Linked DNA regions of Homo sapiens: region 1 is linked to region 2. Evidence: promoter capture Hi-C in 16 types of primary human blood cells and fetal thymus (Javierre and others, 2016). All regions are on one chromosome and are shown on one strand. Each heading gives the region's core, a stretch centred on a gene start or on the middle of the fragment in contact. The rest is flanking DNA. Distances are from core to core; before and after follow the strand shown.

Evidence for each region. Contacts are between HindIII fragments. The CHiCAGO score rates a contact against its expected background, and 5 or more counts as called.
Region 1: a contact is called between a fragment that was not itself captured here and the fragment with the promoter of N4BP1 in region 2, in 5 of 17 cell types (neutrophils, monocytes, M1 macrophages and 2 more). The highest score is 9.3, in neutrophils.

The regions. Positions count from the first base shown.
Region 1 is chr16:48,433,222-48,439,980 of GRCh38, reverse strand. No RefSeq gene overlaps it. Among named protein-coding and RNA genes, the nearest start is that of SIAH1, 51 kb to the right of the region's middle. The HindIII fragment of the contact is 2,753 bases long and covers 2,844-5,596 here.
Region 2 is chr16:48,605,033-48,611,940 of GRCh38, reverse strand. It overlaps N4BP1 (NEDD4 binding protein 1), which reads left to right and starts at 1,761. Exons shown (of 7, transcript NM_153029.4): 1 at 1,761-2,166. The coding sequence starts at 1,969. LOC124903687 (a long non-coding RNA gene) reads right to left here and starts at 1,631. Exons shown (of 2, transcript XR_007065063.1): 1 at 1,423-1,631; 2 at 728-1,286. RefSeq lists enhancers at 219-298, 1,491-1,570, 1,581-1,630, 2,581-2,630 and a silencer at 1,671-2,270. The HindIII fragment of the contact is 6,560 bases long and covers 1-3,621 here.

The DNA of each region.
Region 1 (6,759 bases), core at 2,971-5,470, 170 kb after region 2:
GCCTGGGCGACAGAGTGAGATTCCATCTCAAAAAAAAAAGTTATTTTTTTTATTTTATTACATATATAAAATTATATATGTATATATTAAATATTATAAAAATACATACAACTATTATAAAAATAGAATAAAAATAAATATTATAAAATATAAAAAATAAGTAGTATAAAAATTATAAAAATATTTTATATATATTTAGCCAGAGTCTCGCTCTGTCACCCAGGCTGGAGTGCAGTGGTGAGATCTCGGCTCACTGCAACCTCCGCCTCCCGGGTTCAAGCGATTCTCCTGCCTCAGCTTCCCGAGTAGCTGGGATTACAGGCATGCACCACTACGCTCAGCTAATTTTTGTATTTTTAGTAGAGACAGGGTTTCACCATGTTGGCCAAGTTGGTCTCAAACTCCTAATATAGGTGATCTGCCCGCCTCGGCCTCCCAAAATGCTGGGATTACAGGCGTGAGCCACAGAACTCGACCTATATATATTTATATATAAATTAAAATATAAAAATAAAAATAACATATATATTATTAGAGAAAGGGACTTTCTCTGTTTCCCAGGCTGGAGTGCAGTGGTGCAATCATAGCTCATTTCAGCCTCGAATTCCTGAGACTCAAGGGATCCTCCCAGCTCAGCCTCCTGAGTAGTGTAGTATAGGCATATGCCGCCATGCCCAGATAATTATTTTTTATTTTTTATTTTTTCTACCAACCCCTGCCTTTTTTTTTTTTTTTTTTGAGACAGGGTCTTACTTTGTTGCCTAGGCTGGAGTGCAGTGGTGTAGTCCTAGCTCACTGCAGCCTCGACCTCCCAGGCTCAAGGGATCCTCCTGCCTTAGCCTCCCAAGTAGCTAGGACTACAGGTATATGCCACTACGCCCTGCTAATTTTTGTAGAGATGGGTCTCACTATGTTGCCCATGGTCTTTATAATTTAATTATATATATATATAAATTAAAAATAATATTACACTTACAGAAAACTTAGCACTACTATAAATGGAAAACCTTTATACCTTATCATAAATCAACACAGGCAAAAATATTAAAAAGAATAATTTTTAAAGTTACACAATTCCAGCTAGCTCCTGTTGCCTGCTATCTTAGATTCTCTAGAAGTCAAGCCAGGGCTTGAGTATAAGGTGGGGATTCTTGTGCAAGTGATTTACAGGGGGGACTCCTGGTGAAGGAGGGAGGGAAACAGAAAGAGGCTAAGCAAAGGCGTGGGGCCAGCTGAAGCTCTGGAACAGGAATGGGACCAGAGTTGAACCACCTCAAGGCATGAGGGCTGGGCTTTTGTGCCTGGCATCAATCAGTCGTTGCCGCATACTTCCTCTCGGGATGATGGTATAATCTCCCACCTATTTCCAGGTGAGGCAATTTCCAAAAGAAGGGTGTGGCTGTAAAGTGCTAGCTGCCAACATTCACAGCAGCTGGGAGGTGAATGTATCAACTAGGTGACGGGGATTAGGCAGGACCAGCAGCATCTATTATACCAGTACCAGCCAAAGGCTTTAACCTAAGTTTTCCTCTCTTTTTGCTTTAGACAGGGTGTCACTCTGTCATCCAGGCTGGAATGTGCAGTGGTACAGTCATGGCTCACTGCAACCTCAAACTCCCAGGCTCAAGGGATCCTCCTGCCTCAGCCTCCCAAGTAGCTAAGACTACAAGCACACATCACTATGCCCAGCTAATTTTTTATTCTTTGTAGAGATGGGGGTCATCACTATGATACTCAGGCTGGTCTTGAACTCCTGGACTCAAGCAATCCTCCCGCATAGGCCTCCCAAAGCGCTGAGATTACAAGCGTGAACCACCACACCTGTCTGGTTTGCTATCTTTTGGAGTTAAAAAGAAATGAGAAAACGTGGCCAGGCACGGTGGCTCACACCTGTAATCTCAGCACTTTGGGAGGTCGAGGCTGGTGGATCACTTGAGGTCAGGAGTTTGAGACCAGCCTGGCTAGCGTGAAACCCCGTCTCTACTAAAAATACAAAAATTAGCTGGGAGTGGTGGTGCATGCCTGTAGTCCCAGCTACTTAGGAGGCTGAGGCAGGAGAATTGCTTGAACCCAGGAGATGGAGGTTGCAGGTTGCAGTGAGCCTACATCACACCACTGCACTCCAGCCTGGGCAACAGAGCTCTGTCTCAAAAAAAAAAAGAAAGAAAAAAGAAATTAGAAAATGTTAGAGTGATGTTAAAGACAGGTTAGCACCAAATAGAGACTTTCTCCTTAATGTCGTCAGATGATGGGAAAGAGAATTGAAAATAGACTAGCTTTCTTACTGATACACTGTTCCTTCATGCTCTGCCTGGTCTTTTTGCCAGCTCAGGTGGCCCAGTGCATCCCACACTTTGGGAAACACTGCTGTAAGGCTTTCAATGGGATCCAGCCTGCCATGGCCCCCTCAGCTCCTCTCTGCAGTGCTTTCTTACTTCCCAGCCATTTCATCCAGCAGCCTTGTGTTACACAGATGGCCCACTGTTTGCTCCCAGCTTATTCCCTGCCTTTCCAATGTTCTGCTCTATATTGCAGGAAGCTGTGTTTCCCAGGCTCCCTTGTCAAGTGGCTCTCCATAGCTTTGTGTGTTGGGAGAAAATGGTACAAGACCAGAGTACGGTAGGGTGAGATGTGGGGATCAACCATTTCCCCCCTCTTGCTCTGCATCTTCCACAGTGGCTGTGTATCATCTATGGTTCCAAGCCCTTCTGTGGCTCTGACTCCTGCCAGACAACCCTCACCTCCATGGGGCGAGCTCTCACGGGCAGCCCTGCCATGGTTCTAGCTGCTGCCACCAACACTGGCTTCTGGGCTTCATCTCCTCAACCTTGGAGTAAGAAGCTTCCTGCTGGTGCTAAGCTGTGTTCCTCACTATCCCGTTCAGCCTTTCATCCTTCCATTATCTATGTAAGCAATTCCTTGTGTTAAACTCCCACTGTTGAAAGACCTAGAGTAGTTTCTTAATTCTGACACAGAGAAGCAGCAAGACAGCAGTGAGCTAACCAAGGGTTTACAAAGTCATCAATGAGAAGTTCTGCATCAACCAATCCATTGCTAAGGTCATGTGGCTATGAAAGTCACCCAAGGCCAAGACCTCAACTTTTCCCGCTTGAAAACCCTTGAATATAGAAGGAGCTGGAGGAGGAGGAGTAATAAACTATTCCTCCAAAAATCCAAATGTGTTAATAGTCCCAGCCTTGGCCCTGCACCTCCCCTTCTCCCTCCTCTCGGCAATTCCTGACTTGATTAGTTACCAGGACTAATGCCTTTCTGCTGGTTTATCAGAAAAAAAAAAAAAAAAAAAAGGTTTCTAATACAAAAAATTAGCTGGACGTGGTGGCACACGCCTATAATCCCAGCTACTCCGGAGGCTGAGGCATAAGAATTGCTTGAACCTGGAAGGTGGAGGTTGCAGTGAGCCGAGATTGTGCCATTGCCCTCCAGCCTGGGCGACAGAGTGAGACTGTCTCAAAAAAAAAAAGGGGGTGTTCTCACATGTCCTATGGGGCCTCTCATGAACAATCAGGATATAAGGAACCAGAGAGAGAGAGAGAGAGAGAGACAGAGAGAGATCACAATGGGGCTTAATTTGGAGCCACTTAAATAGATGGTTTTATGAAACCTAATTCCCTCTGTTATTTCTAAATATGCCACTGAGAACTTTAAGACTTGCACACAGCTACTGCTTTCCACTGCAGGCGGGAATTGCCCTCCAGGTGGGAGAGCCAGAGAGGGATGCAATCAGTCCCAGGAGGTTAAAGCCAAGGCCAGGACTCCAATGCTTTGCCTAGGACTTTGTTGTCATTTTCTTCTTGGAAATGGGCCATGATTAGAGAGGGCCAGAAAGGAGCTCTGCTCTGGGGAGGTGAGCCAAGCAGCAGATCAGCCTCGTACTGGTGCAGCCACAAGTGCCAGGAAGCACCACTTTGTGTTAGATGTCCTGAGAATTTTCATCAATGCCCTTGCTGGATGGGACTGATTCCGGGCCAGGCACACATGAGGGCCTCCCAGAAGGCAGGATTCTTCCCATTTGTGACATTAGATCTTTAAAAAGTAAAAAAGCCGGGCGCGGTGGCTACGGCCTGTAATCCCAGCACTTTGGGGGGCCGAGGCAGGTGGATCACTTGAGGTCAGGAGTTTGAGACCAGCCTGGCCAACATAGTGAAACTGTGTCTCTACTAAAAATGCAAAAATTAGCCTGGCGTGGTGGCATGTGCCTGTAATCTCAGCTACTCAGGAGGCTGAAGCAGGAGAATCGCTTAAACCCAGGAGGTGGAGGTTGCAGTGAGCAGAGATCACACGACTGCACTCCAGCCTGGGCGACAGAGTGAGACTCCATCTCAAAAAAACAAAACAAAAAAAATTAATACTTTGTAGATCTGTTACTTATGTAGGTTTTACCCACAGTCTGGGCAAGGGGCAGCTTGGTGACCGTGGATTCACAGTCGTGTCAGCACCTCCTCCTTCCTGGGTCCCAGGTTTCCATCAGGGGTGCTCCCGGCAGGGGGCAGCTGGAAACTGCCCCAAGCAAGACTCGCCAAACAGCAAGATGGGTGGCAAGGGTCCAGGAACAGGTTTTGGCAACACAGAGGGAAACACATACTAAGTGAGTTTATTTTTGTTTTTTCCATCTTTAATTGAGTATTTACTTCGTGTCAGGCACTGGGCTAGGCACCTCCCATGTCTTGGCTCATCTAATTAACACAGCAACCCAGGAGTCAGGTGCTATTTTAAATTGCTGTTTTGCAGAGGAGGTGCACCAAGGCTCAGAGATGCAAAGTAACATGCCAAGGTCACACAGCTGCCTGGGGCCCCTATTGCAAGAGCAGTGTCTAAACTCCTCAGCCTGGGAGGCAAAATAAACATCTGGTGAGGCAAGGGTCAGTCACGGAGAGGCAGAGGGAAGTTCCAGCTTGGGGATGGTGGAAACGTGCTGACGTGAAAGTTGGGCCAAAATAGGCACACAAAGGAGCCAGCTAGGGGTTTGCTCTGCAAAACCAATGATTAGTGTTCTTGGAAGCCATGTTCCTGCTTCACCTGAAGGCTCTGCCTGGTGTTATCTTTCTTCACATTGACTCTGTCCCAGGAAGCCTTTATTTCTTGCTTACCACAGACAGGATGGGGCAACTGCTCTGTACTAGAGCTGCCTAAGAGCTGCAGGAAACACAGATATTGACAGCACAGGATCTCTGCTCTCAAGAAACCCACAGGGTAAAAGGAAGAGGAACATTTATCCAAATGGAAATGACCAAGCCATGCCTAAGGAGAAGAGTGAGCAAACCGTCAGAGACACAGAAAGGAGGGCTATCAGGGAAGACTTCTCAGAGGAGGTGGTCTTTGAACTGGACCCAGAAATGGACCGGGGATGCAATAGTTGGATTGAGAGGAAAGGCTAGTCCAGGCTGAGGAAATAGGTACAGAGGAGGAAAGGGTAGGAAATGGTTAGGACAGGGGAGGAGCCAGATGTGGCTGGAGTGTGAGCTGTTGGGCTAGAATAGGATAAGATGAGTCTGGAAAGGTAATTTGGGCCAGATTATAAAAGCTCTTGACTGAAGAAGCGATATTCCGCCAGCAAGAGAAGCATGTGATATAAGCTTTTCATGAATGAGAACCTCGGCTCTTACATCAACACATATCCTCAGAACACTGCTGCAGGACAGGGGTCAGGCTCCCAGTTTTACACAGGAGGAAACCAAAGTTTGTAGCAATTCTTATTCTACACTTCCTTCCTCCTCCACCATTAAAGATGTCTTTCTTGGAGGCCCCCTCTGTTGTCTTGAGGACAACCTAATCCAATCACAGGGTCCTTGTGGCTAAATAAAATCATCATTTCCCCAAGAGAAAGGCTACTCTGAGAGGCATGGGGAAGGGAATAGGGTGCAAGACAGGGAGGAAAGAAACCTGGGTTCAGTCTGGACTCTATCAACAGCCTGTGACCTTGGGGAAGTCACTTCCTCTCTCTGGGTCTTGGTTTCCTCATCTGTAAAGTGAGGAATTGAAGTGAATACTTGCCAACTCCCAGAGTCTGTGCATAATTAAATGAGGCCCGGGTGTAGAGGGAGAGAAGGGAAGGAGCGTGCCTTCATTTTTTGGTATTTTTGAGTGTGTCCTGGACACTATGCCTCATGCAAAGGACAGGGACATAGGAAAGAATATGGCTCCCTAAGAAGGAGAAAGACAAGTGAAATGACAGAAACAGAGGCATTGAAAACAGCAGGGCTCAAAGTTAGGCTGGAGGTCAGGGAGGGCCTCGCAGAACTGGAGCGTGAGCAGCCTGTGAAGGAAGGACAGGAACTCACTGCCCGGCGATCAGGACGGCCAGGGCCTTCCAGGCAGGGGAGCTGTGTGGACAACGCAAGGAAGGCGGCAACTGCGTATCTGTTCAGGCAGGTGCAAATATGGATTGGTAGTGGGGTAAGGAGGACCGTGGAGAAACAGATCGGGCTGGAGAGGTCAACCAGGCCTCGTGGCCAGGGAGAAGTTCTGACCCGGGGGTCTGATCAATAACTGATGGCAGGCTGATTAGAGGACCTCCCACCCCCGCAGAGGCTCCCTGTCCCCCTGCGCAGTTCTCACCTCCCCACCAAGGCAGAAAGACTCAGCACAGCTGCCTCTTATGTGCAAGCTGGAGGAGACAAGCAGGGCTCCAGGTGGGAGTCACAGAGGCCCTTGGTTGGTGCAAAATTGAGGAAACTAGGACACCTGCTCTCTGCCTGACAGAACTCTACAAACTGCAGCCTGAGTGTGCACAGCATTAAA
Region 2 (6,908 bases), core at 512-3,011:
CAGCAATGCCACACTCGCCACCTGACCTGCCTCAGCCAATCCCACGTCATCTACCTGATGGAGCAAGGCTGCTGGTTGTGTGGACATCAAGGGAAAAGCCCAGGGGAGCAGGAATCTGTTGATCTGTGAGCCTAGTGGTTCTCTTCCCTGTGCTGAATCACTTCTTGGTGGGGCACTGGGAGACCACACCTGAGTTTCTGAGACATATGGAAACCCCCAGAAGCCTGGATCTCTCATAGGTTTTACCTTGGGTAAATCCTCCTACAGAGACCATTCCCCCTTGGTATTTCCAACTACAGCATCTTTAGCTCCTCCTCTTTTTCCTCTAGCAGGGATGTACACAGATGGCACAGACTCCTGGGCCCACAAGTTCACTGTGGTTGCATAATCCACACAAAGATTTTCCCTGAAAATTAGGCCTTAAATATATTGCTTAAGTTAGCAATAATAATGTTCAGTGAGCACTTACAGTGTTGGGTGCTGTATTAATATTCACAATAGGAAGTACTATTATTATCTACATTTTATAGATGAAAAATTAAAACAGAGAGAGGTAATATTCCCAGAGCCCCTATCTACTATAGCCACAATATTTAGCTGAAGGAAAGGAATCCAACACTTTATCTTCCACAATCTGTTTTCATGGACTCAGAGAATATAAAGGCCTGGAAAAGGCCTTAGAGATAACTGAGTGTACTCTTTTATTTTACAGATCAGAAAACAGACCTGGAGAGGGGTTAGGGTTTATTTGCTCCAGTCCCAGGGAAGATCATGAGTGAGCCCCCAAACTCCCACTTTTCGGGCTTCTCCCATAACATATCCCCTTTCTTCCCTCACAGAAGAAATCACTCTCCTGAATTTATCTTTTTTTTTTTTTTTGAGACGGAGTTTCGCTCTTCTTGCCCAGGCTGGAGTGCAATGGCGCAATCTCGGCTCACCGCACGCAACCTCTGCCTCCAGGGTTCAAGCGATTCTCCTGCCTCAGCCTCCCTAGTAGCTGGGATTACAGGCATGTGCCACCACGCCGCGCTAATTTTTTTTTTTTTTTTTTTTTTTTTTTTTTTTTTTTTTTTTTTTTTTAGCAGAGACGGGGGTTTCTCCATTTTGGTCAGGCTGGTCTCGAACTCCGGACCTCGAGTGATCCACCCGCCTCTGCCCCCACAGACTGCTGGGATTACAGGCGTGAGCCACCGCGCCCGGCCTTCTTGAATTTATCTTAATCATTTTTTTGATTTTCAATTCTCCGTAAGTATGCCCATTTTCTTCTCTTCTTGCTACCATTTTTACTGAAAGAAATAAAAAGGGAAAGAGAAAAAAGTGAGAAGGGCAGCTAAGAAGGTAAAAGGGTAGGGAGGAAGGGAAGAAACAGAGAAAGAAAAGTCCCGTCTGCCTGTGGATTAACGTGAAACTGAATAACTCAACTGCTAGAATCCTGGTTTGAGCGTCAAGATGTCTGAGGTCAAGTCCAATCCCTGTGACACTCTCAGTCTCGCCTCCTGGCAATTAAGTTTCCCCAACTATAAACCCATATATCTACATCCACCAGATCCCGCGAAAGCGGTTTCCCCTCATCAAAGAAGTCCGCCCAGGCCTCCAAAACCATCCCTTTATTCTCAACCAACATGGCGACTGAGGGTGACGTCAACTTCCGTCGCCTTCACCCTACTCCCTTCCCCTAGGGGGCGGCGAGCCTCAATGACGGCTGCGGCCGGGGCGCATGCGCGGCGGCGGGGCCCGGCCCGCGGCGGCGGCAAAGGGGCGGAGGGGTTCGCTGCCAGCAATTGCCAAGCTGCTGCGGTCGTGGCGGGATGGTATAGCCGGGCCTGAGGGCGGGCGGCGGGGCGCGGGCGGGGGCGAGGCGGCCGGGAAGGGCCGACGCCGCCTGACTGGCTTGGGAGCAGCGGCAGCAAGCTGAGGGGGCGTCGCCGCCGCCGGCCCCCGGCGCCGCCGCGGGAGGCCGCGCCCGCCATGGCGGCCCGGGCGGTGCTGGACGAGTTCACTGCGCCAGCTGAGAAGGCGGAGCTGCTGGAGCAGAGCCGCGGCCGTATCGAGGGCCTGTTTGGCGTGAGCCTAGCCGTGCTCGGCGCGCTAGGGGCTGAGGAGCCGCTGCCCGCGCGCATCTGGCTGCAGCTCTGCGGGGCGCAGGAGGCGGTGCACAGCGCCAAGGTGAGTCCGGCCGCCGCCCCCGCGCGCCCGCGGCCTCGATCGGTCCGGGTCTCCGGGCTCCCGCTCCTCCCCGCCCCCGCCGTCCGCCGCGATGCGCCTGGGTTGGGAACGCAGTCTCGGGAGCCAGCGAACGTGCCTTTTCGGCTCGCGAGCCATGTGACCTTGGATAGCGGCTTGATCCCCGGAGCCTCAGTTTCCCCATTTGTAAAGTGGCGCTGACGAAAGTACCTACCTCAGAGGGCTGTCGCGAGGATGAAAGTGGGGGATGTGTATGAAGCGCAGGCACAGCGTGTGGCACGGATCGGGTGCGCTGCGCATGTCGCCTGTTGTTGTCAGTTCCCCGGCCCCCAGGATGGTACGCAAGGCCTGTTGCTGGGCCCGCAGCCTCGTCCACCACCTAAGCCTTTATCCCCCAGTCCCGGGCCTCCACTACTGCAGTTCTGAGCCTTTTTGGGATCTCAGTTCCTCTTGAGAATCGGAAAAAAACTATTAATAGTAATAAAACGCTCGGAGAATGTCAGAAAGAAAGGATTTATGTTTACCTATTTTTTTCTATTTGAGACAGGGTCTCACTCTGTCACCCACAGTGGAGTGCAGTGTGGCGCGGTCTCAGTTCACTGCAGCCTCGACTTCCCGGGCTCAAGTGATCCTCCCACCTCAGCCTCCCGAGTAGCTAGTACTATAGGAGCGCGCCACCACGCCCGGCTCATTTTTTTTTTTTTTTTTGGTAGGGGATTTCACTATGTTGCCCGGGCAGGTCTCGAACTCTTGGACTCAAGTCATCCTCCCATCTCGGTCACCCAAAGTGCTGGGACTACACGCGGGAGCCACCCCGGCCGGATATTTAATATGTTAACAAAAAATAGCGTTATTCTTTGTATTGATATTACCTACAACTAACATTTACATAACGCTTAAGAACATCACAGGTTGCTTCAGAAGGAATGTGCAGCCCTTATGGCTTCTAATAAGGTAGATTTTATCCTCCCCACCACCACCCCGCCTTTTTTTTTTTTTTTAATTAACAGCTGGGGAAACTGAAACTCAAAGTGGTGACTCACCTTCTGCCTAAATCAGCATTTCAGACCTCTTCAGCACCTCTATCTACTTCCCCCCCTTTCCAAACCAAAAAGCAACACAGTATGTTGCTCCTCCTAGGTAACCAAGTTTCTCTAGGTTTTTCCATCTCCTAAGTAGGGCAGCAGGATTCAGACCTAGGGAGTTTGTTTCCAGAGCCTTCGTTCTTGATACTTGCCTCTCATATGATGAGCCCTGTCTGCGGGGTGGGCAGGAAGGGCCCTCTTTTTGCATCCTGCTTTGTCAAGTAATGTCAGTGTCCTTGAATCTGAGTAGTCGTATCTCCTGATGTTCTTAGATTTAACAAAAAATCGTGAGTGTTTGCATTTCACATCCTTAAAGGAGACGGGGCACTCAGCTGTGTAGTTCTTCAAAGCTTAACTTAAAACATTGTAGGCCGGGCGCGGTGGCTCACGCCTGTAATCCTAGCACTTTGGGAGGCCGAGGTGGAAGGATCACGAGATCAGGAGATTGAGACTGTCCTGTGTCACACGGTGAAAACCGTGTTCTTGAGAATCGGAAAAAAACCATTAATAGTAATAAAACGCTCGGAGAATGTCAGAAAGAAAGGATGTATGTTTATTTACCTATTTTTTTCTGTTTGAGACAGGGTCTCACTCTGTCACCCACACTGGAGTGCAGTGGCATCTCTACTAAAAATACAAAAAATTAGCCCGGCGTGGTGGTACGCGCCTGTAGGCCCAGCTACTCGGGAGGCTGAGGCAGGATAATCGCTTGAACCCGGAAGGCAGGTTGCAGTGAGCTGAGATCGCGCCACTGCACTCCAGCCTGGGCGACAGCACGAGACTCCGTCTCAACAAAACAAAACAAAACAAATCAGAAAGCCAGCATTGTAGATATAGAACCAAGTTTGCTTTCCTGGGCTTAACTTTTTTAGTCAGTTGGATTGCAGACAGCTGGTCTAAGGCGCATTCCCCTTCGTCCATTCTCCCCAGCTATCCAATCTTCTGCACTTCTCAGGGCTTAAAAGCTTGACATGATTAAGTCCTGCTTTTTCTTCTGAAAATCTCTTACGTGCATTCATTCCTTTCCTTTCTATTGCCTTTGCTGCGGTTAAGACTTTCATTCCTGTGTGTCCCCTCCCTTGCTCCATTGCCTTTACTCATTCATTGCTCCCTCCCTCCCTGGTTCAACTTGTGTTAGAGTAATCCTCCTGCAAAAAGTCATTCTCCTGCCCTGGAACCTACTAGAGCCTCCTGTCACCTGTCTCATTCAGCCTAAACTCCTCCTCTGACTTACAAAACGATTAATCCAACCCCACTTTATTTTTCCAATGTTCTGGTTTAGCACCTTTCAGCTTAAATCTCCACTGTAGTAGTCTCTGCCTTTGCTGTGCGTTCTGCCTCCTCTGGGTTCTGCTTTTGCTCAAGACTCATCGCAAGCATGGAGAATGACTCCTTTGCTATGCAGAAGAGCCCTGCTGGTCCTGCCAGACCTGCCCAATGCCTGTTTTCTTGGCTGTCCTTGCCACACAGTTTAGCCAAGCTGTTTGGGAAAGGTGTGTCTTACAGTTTCTTGCTAGTATGTGCTCCTGCTTGTTGATCTTTGTGATATGTATTACTCATAAGTCAACCCTCCCACTTGTAAGAAATTCTTTTTTTTCTCCCCTTGAGACTCATAGGTAAGAGTTGAATGCCACAATCAGGGCTTTTTTGTTCTGAATTTGTTTTGGAGTTTGTTTTACTTTCTTGAAGGAGGAGAAAACCATTATTTTGATTTTAAAAACTAAGAACAGGAAAGCAAATTTGATCCAACATCTATAATATTTTAAGTTAGGCTGTGGAAGAGCAGCAGATTTAGAGGAAGGAAGATTTAGAGCAAAGAAGAGTTTTTCAACTATAGTGTCTCTGCTCAAAATAAGATAAGATGAACTGTCTTGTGTCCCACCAAGTGGTTTGCTTGTGTTTTGCCTTTAAAATGTGAATTCACTGCCTTTTGCAAATGCTAGAGTAGAGAAGAATGTGGAGCTTAGTTAGGTGGGCCTCCAATGACTGCAGAGGGGCGAAATGGAAACTACTAGTAGACAGTGATAGTGCGCATGCAGGTTGAAAAACAGGCACTGACTCTGTACCAGTGACCACTTTTGTTAAAGGGAAGATTTGTCGTAGAAAGCAGTACTTCAGCTGGCTTTTGAAGAGCCAAATATTCCCAGGTACCTGACCTTCCAGACAGAGGTGGTTGTGGAGCAAAGGCCCAGAAAACATGGAGTGTCATGGTAAAAGGTGTCCAGGTGCTCCTGGGAAAGATGAAGGCTGAGGTACCAAAATGCCAGGCTAAGGTCATTGGACCTTATTTAATAGTCAGTGAGGATTTTGAGAAGCATGGAATCTTCCTGAAACAGAAGACCAACAGTGAAATGAACATTGTTGCAAGTTAGCCTTGGGCATGAGGGGGTAGGGGGTGGTAAGGTTTTTACAGGGACAGGGCAGCTGTGTGGTGGATGTAGGGATTTAGGGGTCGGTTTTAAGCCAGGTGGCAGGAGGGATGGTTAAGTTGTTTGACCTATTGACTGGTGGGGCCACCAGCTCATCAACATTTAAGGAAGACTTCTCTGGTGCCAGGGAGTGTATTGACGGTTGCCCCTTGACCTCAAGAATCACGTTGCCTCTTAGGGGAGACAGACATGGGGAAGATACAGTAAAGTGTGATACATACAACAACTGCAATGTGTGCAAGGTGTTTCTGTAACACAGGAATGGAAGGGTTGCTCTGCCAGCCGGTTTCCTAGGTAGCAGGGAGGTCCTGGCAGAGGGAAGAAGCTGTGTGCAATCACAGGGGCATGGAAGAGGGCAGTTGCATCACAGATTCCTCCAGTGGATCACAAAGTGCTTGGGGCCTGCTGAAGAACATGGATTTTACCTGCAAGTAGTCAGTGGAGAGTCGTGGAAGAGTTAGGGGGACATGAGAAATTTACATTTCCACAAATGCCTCAGTGTTTACACCTCTGGGCTGGGGCTGCTCAGTGTGGTCTGTTGCTGGTTTTCAATAGTAAGAGTACAGAAATTGAAAATAAGGGTTGAGTAACTTTTATGCAATTTGGCATTAATACAGGGGCTAGAGAGGCAATGTCTAAGAGTGAGAAGTCCTTATAAGAGGGCATTGTCCATAGGGGGCCCAGAGAGAGGGGAAAGAAGTCAGTGCTGGAAGACATCTTGGGAGCAAAGGATTGTGAGGATTGAATTTCAGAGACAAAAGGGAGGTACTGGCTAGCTGTTGCCTCATTCGCAAATAGAGATTAAAGTGAAGAAGCAGAGGTGGGACCCTCCCTGTGAAGCAGTGGTGGAAAGGGATGAGGTTGAGGGGATCTCAGCCGTGGGGGTGAGACGAGTTAGAATTCTTCTTTTAGGCCGGGCGCAGTGGCTCACGCCTGTGTAATCCCAACACTTTGGGATGCCGAGTGGTCTGATCACCTGAGGTCGGGAGTTCGAGACCAGCCCACCAACATGGAGAAACCCTGTCTCTACTAAAATTACAAAATTAGCCAGGTGGGGTGGCGCATGCATGTAATCCCAGCTACTCAGGAGGCTGAGGCAGGAGAATTGCTTGAACCAGGGAAGCGGAGGTTGCGGTGAACCAAGATCACGCTATTGCACTCCAGCCTGGGCAACGAGAGCAAAACTCTGTCTTGAGAAAAAAAAAAAAAG